Regions from separate parts of the Homo sapiens genome. Here all the other regions are linked to region 2. Evidence: promoter capture Hi-C in 16 types of primary human blood cells and fetal thymus (Javierre and others, 2016). All regions are on one chromosome and are shown on one strand. The core of a region is centred on a gene start or on the middle of the fragment in contact, and the rest is flanking DNA. Distances in the headings are between cores, read along the strand shown.

The links. The method cuts DNA at HindIII sites, captures the fragments that hold promoters and counts their contacts. A CHiCAGO score of 5 or more calls a contact.
Region 1: a fragment that was not itself captured here is called in contact with the fragment with the promoter of ALDH7A1 in region 2 in 2 of 17 cell types (fetal thymus and total CD8 T cells); the score reaches 6.5 in fetal thymus.
Region 3: a fragment that was not itself captured here is called in contact with the fragment with the promoter of ALDH7A1 in region 2 in 3 of 17 cell types (naive CD4 T cells, naive CD8 T cells and activated CD4 T cells); the score reaches 6.5 in naive CD4 T cells.

The regions. Positions count from the first base shown.
Region 1 is chr5:126,779,216-126,783,346 of GRCh38, forward strand. The region is part of intron 1 of LMNB1 (lamin B1); the gene reads left to right. Among named protein-coding and RNA genes, the nearest start is that of LMNB1, 4.1 kb to the left of the region's middle. RefSeq lists enhancers at 891-960, 971-1,060. The HindIII fragment of the contact is 2,673 bases long and covers 141-2,813 here.
Region 2 is chr5:126,592,578-126,596,517 of GRCh38, forward strand. ALDH7A1 (aldehyde dehydrogenase 7 family member A1) reads right to left here and starts at 2,642. Exons shown (of 18, transcript NM_001182.5): 1 at 2,430-2,642; 2 at 774-827; 3 at 87-152. The coding sequence starts at 2,621. The HindIII fragment of the contact is 2,913 bases long and covers 1,681-3,940 here.
Region 3 is chr5:126,366,302-126,370,582 of GRCh38, forward strand. It overlaps LOC124901056 (a long non-coding RNA gene), which reads right to left and starts at 3,997. Exons shown (of 9, transcript XR_007058919.1): 1 at 2,379-3,997. It also overlaps a transcript of GRAMD2B not described here. RefSeq lists enhancers at 1,108-1,849, 1,850-2,590. The HindIII fragment of the contact is 697 bases long and covers 2,684-3,380 here.

The sequences.
Region 1 (4,131 bases), core at 227-2,726, 190 kb after region 2:
CGTGGTAAGAATAAAATAGTATAGACTGGTTTGTAGCGAAAAACGATAACTGCACTACCTCTTTCCGGAGGCAATCACATTTATCCCTTTTTGTTTTTATTTCTTTGGATATTTAGTTATACAACTCGAAAATAATACTAAGCTTGTATTTCCCTTTCTTGGATTTACTAAGCCTTGGTTTCATCTTTTAAAATGAGCAGTCAGTTAACTCACACTATTATTTCTATGTTCCTCCAAATTTTTTGCCACTGAATTCCTTCAAATCTTAGATATCGTTGCTTGTAAGACTTGCCATTATTATGTGTACCACTAAGAAAATAAAAACATCAGGACCAACTGTGTAGGATCCATCCTGTTGGACCCATCATGATGGGTTTCATAGATATTAAAATGTCAAACAGGGCCGGGCGTGGTGGCTCACGCCTGTAATCCCAGCGCTTTGGGAGGCGAGGTGAGCGGATCACTTGAGGTCAGGAGTTCGAGACCAGCCTGACCAATATGGTGAAACCCCGTCTCTACTAAAAATACAAAAATTGGCCGGACGCGGGGGCTCACGCCTGTAATCCCAGCACTTTGGGAGGCCGAGGCGGGCGGATCACGAGGTCAGGAGATCGAGGCCATCCTGGCTAACAAGGTGAAACCCCGTCTCTACTAAAAATACAAAAAATTATCCAGACGTGGTGGCATGCATCTGTAGTCTCAGCTACTTGGGAGGCTGAGGCAGGAGAATCGCTTGAACCCAGGAGGCGGATATTGCAGTGAGCTGAGATTGCGCCATTGCACCCCAGCCTGGCGACAGAGTGAGACCCCATCTCAAAAAAGAAAAAAAATCCGGGCGTGGTGGCGGGCGTCTGTAATCCCAGCTACTGGGGAGGCTGAGGCAGGAGAATCGCTTGATATCCAGGAGGCAGAGGCTGCAGTGAGCCAGATGGTCCACTGCACTCCAGCCTGGGTGACAGAGTGAGACTCCGTCTAAAAAAAAAAATTAACACAGATCAAATATCTGTTGCGTACCAGTCACCGTTCTATGTTAGAGGATATGAAGATTTTTTTAAAAAAATGAATTACTGTTCTTTGTTGCTGAGAGTGTAGTGGGGGAGCTATATCCCAGCAAGTAAAGAAAGATTGTCTTTTGTCTGATGTGAAGCATTTTGATGCTGGCGCTTTTGTAATCTTTCCAGGAGTTAGCCACAGGAGGTTTTTCACACAGTAACAAGGCTGCCACCTGGCTGACAGTAGTTGTAAATGTATCGATTCTAAAATGCATGCTGGTTTCAGCGGGGTTAAAAAATGAGAATAATGTGTATTAGAATCAATGAAATAATGCATGTGATACAATTTAGGTAATAGCAGATGCTAAGGGAATAAAAATAAAGCGGAGTGAAGGGTTAGTGTGATTAAGGAAGGCCTGTCTGAGGAGTTGACAGTACCTATTCTCTGAGGGTTAGTAGTGTTCTGGGATTATATTTTTCTTAAGTCTGTGCTACTGTATGTATATTCCTATTGCCAGGATTAGATGACTCTTCTTTTCCCCCCAACATACCATCATTTGCTCAAAACATGCCACATTTTAGTTTGCTCCTTATTTGAATTAGGACTTTTTTTATATGGATTTATTCCTCAATAGCTTTTCATTTTTCTTGTTAAGAAAAATTTGCCCTCAGTGTGTTTGCAGACTTTTTGAAGATATTTAATCATAATATCTATCACATGAATCTGCTTTCTTCCCTAGAGTTCTCTTTGCTTAAGGTAGGCTGTGTACTGATGTCCTGTAACTTATTAAAGACAGCTTCCTGGCCAGGCACGGTGGCTCACACCTGTAAAGCACTTTGAGAGGCCTAGGCAGGTGGATCACCTGAAGTCAGGAGTTCAAGACTAGCCTGTCCAACATGGCGAGACCCCGTCTCTACTAAAAATACACAAATTAGCCGCGTGTGGTAGTGGACGCCTGCAATCCCAGTTACTGTGGAGGCTGAGGCAGGAGGCATTGCTTGAACCGGGGAGGCGGAGGTTGCAGTGAGCTGAGATCACACCACCGCACTCCATCCTGGGTGTATTTTCCTTTTCCTTGGTTTCTTCATATTTTGTTGAAGAACATCCTTAAGTAATTTATTCAGAAAGGATGGCAGGAGGTAAACTTTCTGAGTCCTGTATGTCTGAAAATAGCTTTGGGCTAGGTATAGAATACTAGGTTAACATTTTTCCAGAACTTGGAAAGTATTATTTTGCCCTATTGTCTTCTGGCATCTAGGGTTGTTAATGTCTTTCTTTTTTTTTTGAGACGGAGCTTGGCTCACTGCAACCTCCGCCTCCCAGGTTCAAGCGATGCTCTTGACCCAGCCTCCCAAGTAGCTGGGATTACAGGTGTGCACCACCACACCCGGCTAATTTTGTATTTTTAGTAGAGACGGGGTTTCACCGTGTTGGCCAGGCTGGTCTCCAACTCCTGACCTCAGGTGATCCACCCACCTCGGCCTCCCAAGGTGCTGGGATTATAGGCGTGAGCCACCATGCCTGGCCTATATTTAATTTTTTATTTGGAACTAGAGTGTTTGTAATTAAGTATAATCATCATTTAGGTAGATTTAGATTAAGAAAACAGCTTTGAGAGAATTATAGATTCCAGGTTACTTAGTTTCTTTTTGGTTCCTCAGCAAACAAGATACCTTAGAGGCAGAGCATGGAAATGCTTGGTCTAAAGAGAATTTGGCAACAGTTTCCATGCAGGTGGTGTCTGAATCCATAGAAAACAGACCTCATATGTAAGGTACAGTTACTTTGATTCAGTCCAAGACTGATTATATTTTGCTGAAAGCTTTTTTGAGAGAACAGTTTCCAAAAATGATGATGAATGCCATCACTCAACACTTTAAACAAAAAGTACAGAGAAATTGACTTGTTTCAGATTTTCACTGTTAACTATACGGGAAAACTAGATATAACAGAAAGTTAAGTGTTTACATCAGTCTTCAATAACTGATTTTGTGGATTCAGACATTTATTTTCCTTCAGTGATACAGGTCCCGTATCTTTTCTGTAAAACCCTGGGGGCCAGATGTGCTTTGGAAGTTAAAGCAATTCCAATTTAAGACGGTAATATGATGCACATACTGGATATGACACCCCCAGTGGGGTTTATAGATAGAGTTAGGGTAGATAGAGTTAGCACTCTATCATGAAACATTTCTGAGGGAAAGATATTGTCATGGCAAGTGGAGAAAGACAGATTGAAAATAGACCTGGTTTCAGGTCAGGTTTTGCCACTAAATGTGTTAATAAAAATTTTAGGTTTTCAAACTCTGGAAGTATAGATAAAAGATGGTGAATTTTTGTTTTTATTTATTTATTTTTTGACACAGAGTCTCGCTCTTTTGCCCAGGCTGGAGTGCAGTGACACAATCTCAGCTCACTGCAACCTCTGCCTCCTGGGTTCAAGCAATTCTTCTGCCTCAGCCTCCCAAGTAGCTGGGATTACAGGCACCCGCCACCACGCCCAGGTAATTTTTATATTTTTAGTAGAGACCAGGTTTCACCATGTTGGCCAGGATGGTCTTGATCTCTTGACCTCGTGATCTGCCCGCCTCTGCCTCCCAAAGTGCTGGGATTACAGGCGTGAGCCACTGTGCCTGGTCAAAAACATGCTAATCTTCTTTAGGAGTGTTTTCTTTGTACATAGGATGATTAATTGAAAAACAAAAACCTTTGGCTGGGCGTGGTGGCTCACGCCTGTAATCCTAGCACTTTGGGAGGCTGAGGTGGGAGGGTCATGAGGTCAGGAGTTCGAGACCAGCCTGACCAACACTGTGAAACCCCATCTCCATAAAAATACAAAAATCAGCCGGGCGTGGTGGTGCACGCCTGTAATCCCAGCTACTTTGGGAGGCTGAGGCAGGAGAATCTCTTGAACCCAGCAGGTGGAGGTTGTAGTGAGCCAAGATCGTACCACTGCACTCCAGCTTGGGCGACAGAGCGAGACTCTGTCTCAAAAACAAAAACAAACAAACAAAAAAACCACAAAAAACAAACCTTCATCATCCTGTGTATTACTATATCTTTTTTTAATGTACTGATTTTGCCCTATTTGAAGCAGATTGACAGTATACATCTTGGCCTTAATATAAGAGTTATCAA
Region 2 (3,940 bases), core at 1,392-3,891:
CCTGCTTATCAGATGTTTATGTATCTCATTGGTTACAATAGGCAAAGTGATCTTTTCTGAATTCTAGAAACAAAGGCCATACTTACATCTGCCCAGATTTTCCATGCTTCTCTTGCTTTCTTTACAGTTTCTTCATAGTCTGCCACACTGGCCTAAATTAAGAATTAGGGGGACAGAAAGGGGGAAATAAAGAGAAATGATGATGATCTTCTAGAACACAAAAATATTTTCAGAAAAGAGTTGGGAAATCTCTAGGGTTCCCTAACATTTATGGCTGAGAATGATTCCCACAGTCTATACTTCCAAAAACTAGCTAGAACCCGGTAAAACAGGTTGGTATCCAACTATGCTTTAAAACCTTGCTTTTCAAAGCAAAATCTGTCAGCTTCATCTGGGAACATGTAAGGCATATTAGAAATGCAGAACCTTGAGCTCCAACCCAGACTTCGGAAATCAGAAGCTTCATTCTAACAAAATCCTCAGGTACTTCAGAAGCACTGCCTTAAATGGCCCCCTGCCTAATCTTTCTACGCTTCACCTTTTCTATGGTTCTTTCCTTTTCACGCCCCCACCCAAGAGAGGACAGTCTCCCCCAGACAGTCCTAAATGACAAATGAAAAATAAACACATTATTCTCTTCATTTGTGATTTTATATTATTCTTGACCTGCCTAACTGGCTTCTGCCTCTAAAGAAAGCCTGCACAAACTCCTTGTGTATAATTTGAATTAAACACACACACACACACACACACACACACACACACACTCTTACCTGTCGGACTCTTGCTATTGGCTCGTTGTTAGCAGGGCAATAGGTCGTAATAACCTTAAAACAAAAGGATGATGATCATGTATAGAAAACGTAATCCCTTTTGAAGTAAGGGAATAGACCAAACGGGGAAGAAAAACAAGAGAGGAAAAAATGATATAATACCCAAACTCAAAAAGCTTAGGTTAACTTCTGTTACATATAAACCACTCTACAGAGGTTGTCTTTCATTTCTGACTTAAACATTAGAAACTACCTTTCTGCAAAACTCGCCTCTGACATCTCAATATTAGGCATATAAACAAAAGCCTTAACATAAGCAGTTATTTTGTCTCTTTTTCCATTAATAACAGACCAAACTGACTAGTTTTAGTTATTTCTTCTCTTCCTTACTCTGCCCACCCTCTGCTCAGAGATGAAATGGCCAAGGCAGGAAAACTGTTGGAAAGTCCCGTGTCCACACCAACTGGAGAGGTCTCAGGTCAACAATGAAAGGGAAAATCAAGGCACAGCTAAAAAGGCCTCCAAGAGCCTAATGATCAGATACCACACGGAAATCAGGATGAAACACCGAGGTCTGAGGAGCAATTAAAATTATCTGTATCTCCTACAGCCACTGATTACCAAAAGACGTGTTCCCTCTACCAAGGCAGGTTCATTATATAATATACAACGTCCAACAAAGTTTGTTAACTGTTACATAACATCCTCCTATAAAAAACTTTCTTTTAAAAAAAAATCTGGGCGATAATAACCTTACCTTTCCATTGTATTCTATAAAACATTGTTTTGAGCAGTAATGGGTATCAGGCGCGGTGTTAAGCCCTGGGCAATGGAGAAATGCTGAAAATCCAGTCCTCAAAGGAGTTCACAGCCCAACGTACAACATGGCAAGATTTCGGCACGTCCAAGCTTGCAAACTCCCAAAGAATTCAGGAAGGAAGATAACTTAAAACTACACTGAAGAACGTTACCTGCGGTGCACGTCACAGCTGAAGAGCCAGAGTTAAGCTCTAAATTAAGATCAGTTGCACCGCTCAGTGTGCCACATTTCTCACAAGACCATAGATCCCAAGACCATAAGGTTTTAATTTTTTTTTTTTTTTTTTTTTTTGAGACGGAATTTCGCTCTTGTTGCTCAGGCTGGAGTGCAATGGCACGATCTCGGCTCACTACGACCTCCACCTCCCGGGTTCAAGCGATTCTCCTGCCTCAGCCTCCCTAGTAGCTGGGATTACAGGCATGCGCCACCACGCCCGGCTATTTTGTATTTTTTTTAGTAGAGACAAGGTTTCTCCATGTCGGTCAGGCTGGTCTTGAACTCGCTACCTCAGGTGATCCGCCCGCCTAGGCCTCCCAAAGTGCTGGGATTACAGGGGTGAGCCACCGCGCCCGGTAGACCATAATGTTTTAAATATGCGCGGGAAGTTTAGCCCCTACAGCTCCAAAATGACGTCGATTCTGCATAGCACACAAGGACCTAAAATCTAAGTTTTTGTTTTAAAGGCACCCTACACGAGAAAACTTTTACTGTGGAGCTTCAAAATCTCCCATGCTACTACCGCATCCAGCGCCAGCGGGGAGTCGGTAGGTCAGTGCCCGCCCGGCCTCCTCGAGCGAGCCCCGGCGGCTGCAGAGATTTCTTGAGCGCCCGCGTACCTCTCCCCGGCCTCCCCAGCTTCCATTATACACGCCCTCGTTTTCCTCGCGGAGCCCCAGCTCTTTCAGCCACGCATACTGGGGCTGATTGATGAGGAGAGTGGACATGAAGGCGGCAGGCCTGCTCCAAGGTCCAGAGAGCTTGCTGGTCTTTGCAGCGTGCACACACAGCGCGCGAGGAAGGCGCCACATACTGAGCCCGGGACTCGGGATGAGCCCAAGGCCCTGAGAGCTGCTGAAATAGAGCCCCGCCCCCCGCCCGGGAGAACCCATTGGGCAGACCCGACCCCTCCCACTGGGCACGACCCCGCCACCGCCCCGTCTGCCCCTGGTCTTCCGGAGGAGCCTGCGGCTGAATCCTGCCTGGAACAATGGGAGTGCTACAGGGAGGAGTGGGCTGCTGCCATCTGGTGAAAGACTCCGGGAGCCACAGTTCCAGCTGGGAATTCTTTTCAGCAAAATATTGGCGCTGAAGTACAGTAGGCTATAGCAGGGGTTCTGAAACTGTAAAATGCGTGTAATGACCTGGTCGTCGTGGTAAATGCACATTCTGATTCAGTAAGTCTGGGCTAGGGTCGGAGAGCCGACATTCCTAACCAGCTCCTCAGCGATGGTGACGCCTCTTGTCCCTGGAGTAGGCAACGGAGGGTTTGTATTGGGGGGCGGGGGAAGGGTTGGTTGTTTTCACTGTTTTGGTAGATTACAAATTAAAGTTTTCTAATTAATGATAAATATTAGATTGCTGCATTTCCTCTATAAATATCCTGCCTGGGTATATTCTTACTTTTTTTTTTTTTTTTTTTTTTTGGAAACGGAGTTTCGCTCTTCTTGCCCAAGCTAGAGTGCAACGGCGCGATCTCGGCTCACTGCAACCTCCGCCTACCGGGTTCAAGCGGATTCTCTTGCCTCAGCCTCCTGAGTAGCTGGGATTACAGGTGTGCACCACCACACCCGGCTAATTTTTTGTATTTTTAGGACAAACGGGGTTTCACCATGTTAGTCAGGCTGGTCTGGAACTCCTGACCTGAGATGATCTGCCCGCCTCAGCCTCCGAAAGTGCTGGGATTAGAGACATGAGCCACTGCGCCCGGCCTCTTACTTTTTTTTTTTTAAGATGGAGTCTCGCCCTATCGCCCAGGCTGGAGTGCAATGGCACGATCTCCACTCACTGCAACTTCAACCTCCCAGGTTCAAGTGATTCTCCTGCCTCAGCCTCCCCAGTAGCTGGGATTACAGGTGCACACCACCACACCAGCTAATTTTTGTATTTTTAGTAGAGACGGGGTTTCTCCCTGTTGGCCAGGCTGCTCTCGAACTCCTGACCTCGTGATCTGCCCGCCTCTGCCTCCCAAAGTGCTGGGATTACAGGCGTGAGCCACTGTGTCCGGCCTATTCTTACATTTTTTTTTTTTTTTTGAGACGTAGTCTCGCACTGTTGCCAGGGCTGGAGTCCAGTGGCGCAATCTCGGCTCACTGCAACCTCCGCCTCCCGGGTTCACGCGATTCTCCTT
Region 3 (4,281 bases), core at 1,782-4,281, 230 kb before region 2:
CATGGGCCTAGACTGTCAATGCTTGCCCTCCCTCTAGGATTAGGTCTTCCACAAACCACGTGCAAACACACAGCTGTTGTCCCATTGAGTAAAGCAAATCATATCTTTCACTTATATCATATGACTCCACTCAACATGAGTGAAAGTATGACCAACTCAAAGATCCTAATCTTCATTGTCATTACCATCAGTAGTATTTTCTGAATGCTTACTATGTACAGGCTTCATACTTGAAGTTTACACATATTATATCAAGTCCTCCAAACAATTTTTTGAGATAGATATTATTGTTATTCCCATTTTTACAAAAGCTCAGAGTAGTTAAATCCCTTTCTAAAGTAACAAAGCAATGAAATAATCAAGCCACCCTTTTCCAGGCAACCTGACCCCTAAACTAACACTCTAAACCATGAAATCAAACAGCCAACCACAGGAATGTGGATATATTTAATTTACACCCACACACCGGTTTTCCATACATGGTTATTCCATGTATGGAAATATGGTGACAACTGAAATTCAAGGTGATTTTACCAGACCAAGGCTTTTTTTTTTTTTTTTTTTTCTTTTTGAGATGGAGTCTCGCTCTGTTACCCAAGCTGGAGTGCAGTGGCGCGATCTCGGCTCACAAAAACCTCCGCCTTCCGGATCCAAGCGATTCTTGTGCCTCAGCCTCCAGAGTAGCTGGGATTACAGGCCACGCACCACCACACCTGGCTAATTTTTGTATTTTTAGTAGAGACGGTGGTTTCACCATGTTGGCCAGGCTGGTCTCGAACTCTTTATCTCAGGTGATCCACCCACTTCGGCCTCACAAAGTGCTGGGATTACAGGCGTGAGGCACCACACCCGGCCCAGACCAAGGCTTTTTTTATCCAAATCACAGTACTATGTGCTTAGAGTATACAAGCTAATTGTATTAATAATAGCCTAAACACAGCATAATTTATCAAATAAATCTTAAGGCACAAATATTTCTAACTTCGCTTATTTGTAGAGAAAATCTCGTTTATTTCTAAGTGTAAATTTATATTCCATGGCTCTGGAAAACTCCATTTTGAAGCTCTGTTAATCTGGTGGTTCTGGTTTGATCTTATGTCTCAATATCCAAATCCTACACCTGTAAAAACTGGAGGAGGAGGAGGAGGAGGAGGAGGAGGAGGAGGAGGAAGTAGAGGAAAAGGAGGGAGAGGAGGAAAAGGGGAATATACAGGCATGAATTCCGCACCTCCCATCCATCGAGCCTAGCATCAGTAGGCATATTAGTTTCTTATTTATGGAATCCAGAATGCTCGGATATAATAACCAAAGATTATTATCATCATTGCACAAGACTACATTCTTTGAATTATGGACCTTGTTTCATTGAAGAAAGAAAAAACTCTTATGGCCAAACTTTAATTTGTAGGGCTTAAGCAAAGAAAACTAGAGCTTCAGAAGATTTTCTTTTCTTTTCTTTTCTTTTTTTGATTTGGATTCTCACTCTGTCGCCCAGGCTGGACTGCAGTGGCGCCATCTCGGCTCACTGCGAGCTCCACCTTCCCGGTTCACGCCATTCTCCTGCCTCAGCCTCCTGAGTAGCTGGGACTACAGGCTCCCGCCACCACGCCCGGCTAATTGTTTGTATTTTTAGTAGAGACGGGGTTTCACCGTGTTAGCCAAGATGGTTTCGATCTCCTGACCTCGTGATCTGCCCGCGTCGGCCTCCCAAAGTGCTGGGATTACAGGCGTGAGCCACCGCGCCCGGCCGAGAAGACTTTCAACATTATTTCTCAATTCCCATGGAAGGATATAAAAGAGTCTCTGTGATTTTTATTTTAGTTGTATTTTATTTATTATATATTATTCATTTTGGCCACTGTGCATGTTCCTTTTATAGTTATATTTACATAAACGTCCTATTCCAGTTGTTTATCTTTGACCACCTGGTCTTTGTTTTAATTTGCACACACACAAATGAAAGCTGTGGCACAGGCTAGGAGGGCTTGGGCAGAGGCCATGTCTAAACAGTCAAAGGGCTCAGGCAGTGGCTGTGGATGGCTGCACAGCAGTCAACTGCCATTAATCTTGAAAATAAAGCTGTCAGAATTCACATTTTCTTTCAATGATCATGTACTATCAAAACCTTATTCCTATTTAAACATAAAGTCCAGCTATAACTACTTGCACATTTTGTCAGCTTTATCACAGGCAGCTCATATCAAGAAGTGAAATTCACCGGGCAAGCCCCAGCTGGCTCCAGCCCTCAGACAGGTTTAGGATGCCTCCTCCCACCAGAATCTGTTGTGTTAAAACTTGAATGCCCTGAGGGAGGCAAAAGCATTCCTTTGTTTACCACTCTCTGCTGGCTTCTGTCCCTCCCCCAGGGTTTTACTTACCTTTCCGGTTCCTAAAGGCCTTTGAGTTTGTGACCCCTGCTCTAGACTTTCAGAAAATCTCACCTTTGACACAATTTCTTATAATAAGGATTAACTCAACATCTTACATAAGAGTTCAGCCAATACTGTTTAACTACGTCAGTATGCTTCCCATAGGCTAGTAAATTGCTGCGTAACTGAAATAACCGTAACACCCGGCTGACTGGAGTAATGGGACCAACTCATCTCATTCTGCTTCCAAAGCATCGTGCATATGGCCATCGAGCTCATCTTTCATCATTTTATTTCCATTACCTACAGGATAAAGCTTGAACTAACCACACTGGCATCAAGGTTCCTTCATAATTCAGCCTCCAGATAAATGTTCACTATTCCTCTACTTCACCAACAAACTCTCCACTCTCCACTCTCACACACATACCTGGTCCATGCCCATTTATTTGTTCATGAGCACTACTCCTTTCCCTTTCTGCCTTCCCCATGACCCCACATTGAAACTCAAACCCCACATTTTCCATTAGACTTTTATAAGTCATACCAGTCTCAATTGATTTGCCTCCTTTTAACTGTAAATGCTCAATAAATACTTGTTGAATGAATGAATGAATGAATGAATGAATGAATGAATTCCAGCATGACCACATGCTTACTATTTAATTATGGCCAAGTGGTTTAACCTTTTAAAGATATAGTTTTTTTAATCTATAAAAATGTAATTTGGGCAACGATTAAATGAGATGTTATATACGAAATTATCTAGTAGAGATGCTATATTGACTCAAAAGATATTAGCTAGTACAGAGAGTCAATAAATATTAGCCTAATTCACTGCCTTTCTATCGCTTTTATTTTTAGTTAACTTTTCAGTTATGTAGACTGTTTTTTCCTAGCTTCATTGTTGAAGCAAGGACCCATTTTTTAAAACTTTTTATATCACTCGCTGCAGCTAGCAAAGAGCTTTGCTAATAAATATATATCAGTTGATTGAGTGAGTACGAGGAAAGCTTATCTATTGAAAAATAAGTTCAAAGACTGTTCACTGACACTGGAATTTCCTCCTTTAGAGACATTTTGTTCTAAGTTAGGAATTGCCCCTGTTTAATCCAAACCTGCATGAGACAGAGAGTAACAGACTACATTTCACTGACCATTAACATCTGTGCCAGTAAGAGTTGTCTTTTGTTTACAAGGAGCAGAAACTCCCATGCAGGTTGTTGCTATTGTATGAGGCATGGTGACTGGTTTAATTCAGCAATTTAATATAACAGCTTATTTAATGTCTCCAACATTTCAACTCAATTTCAGCACAGAGATAAGAGAGGAAAGAGAAATATAGACCGTGCTCTGTCAAGGAAGGACAGGGAGGAAAGCTGGGGGCGGTGCACCTTCAGAACTGTAGCATGAGGGCGCTCAGCAGTACTAAGGTGACCACCTGCCCCAGTTTGCCCAGCACTAAAGATTTCCTGGAATTTAGGGCATTCAGTGCTAAAACCAAGAAAACTCAGCAGGAAAATATTGTCCAAAATAATGTAATATCACTGAAAGACTCACTTCAAAAGTGTTCTTAGGGTCAATACAGCATGTAGAGCAGCACAGACCTGTCCCTGCCAGGTTAGCAGTTGGTTAGAGCAAAATGCTAATGAGGCCAAGGCTAAAGGTTTGCTTTGATTTCCCAGGAAACTTTGCTCTCTTCCACAATCAGAAACTGTGTACTTCTCTTAAGCCAGCCATTCTGCAATGTCACTGACTAATCACAAGGGGAACAAGGAGAGAGAGCATAGCTACTGTGGAACAAATCTTTCACTGGTGCTAGTAACGAGGGTGGAGGGACACTGATGTTTTCCTTGTGCATGAACATTTGTCGCATGAAGAAACTCATTTTCTGAACTTATTTGTTAGTAAA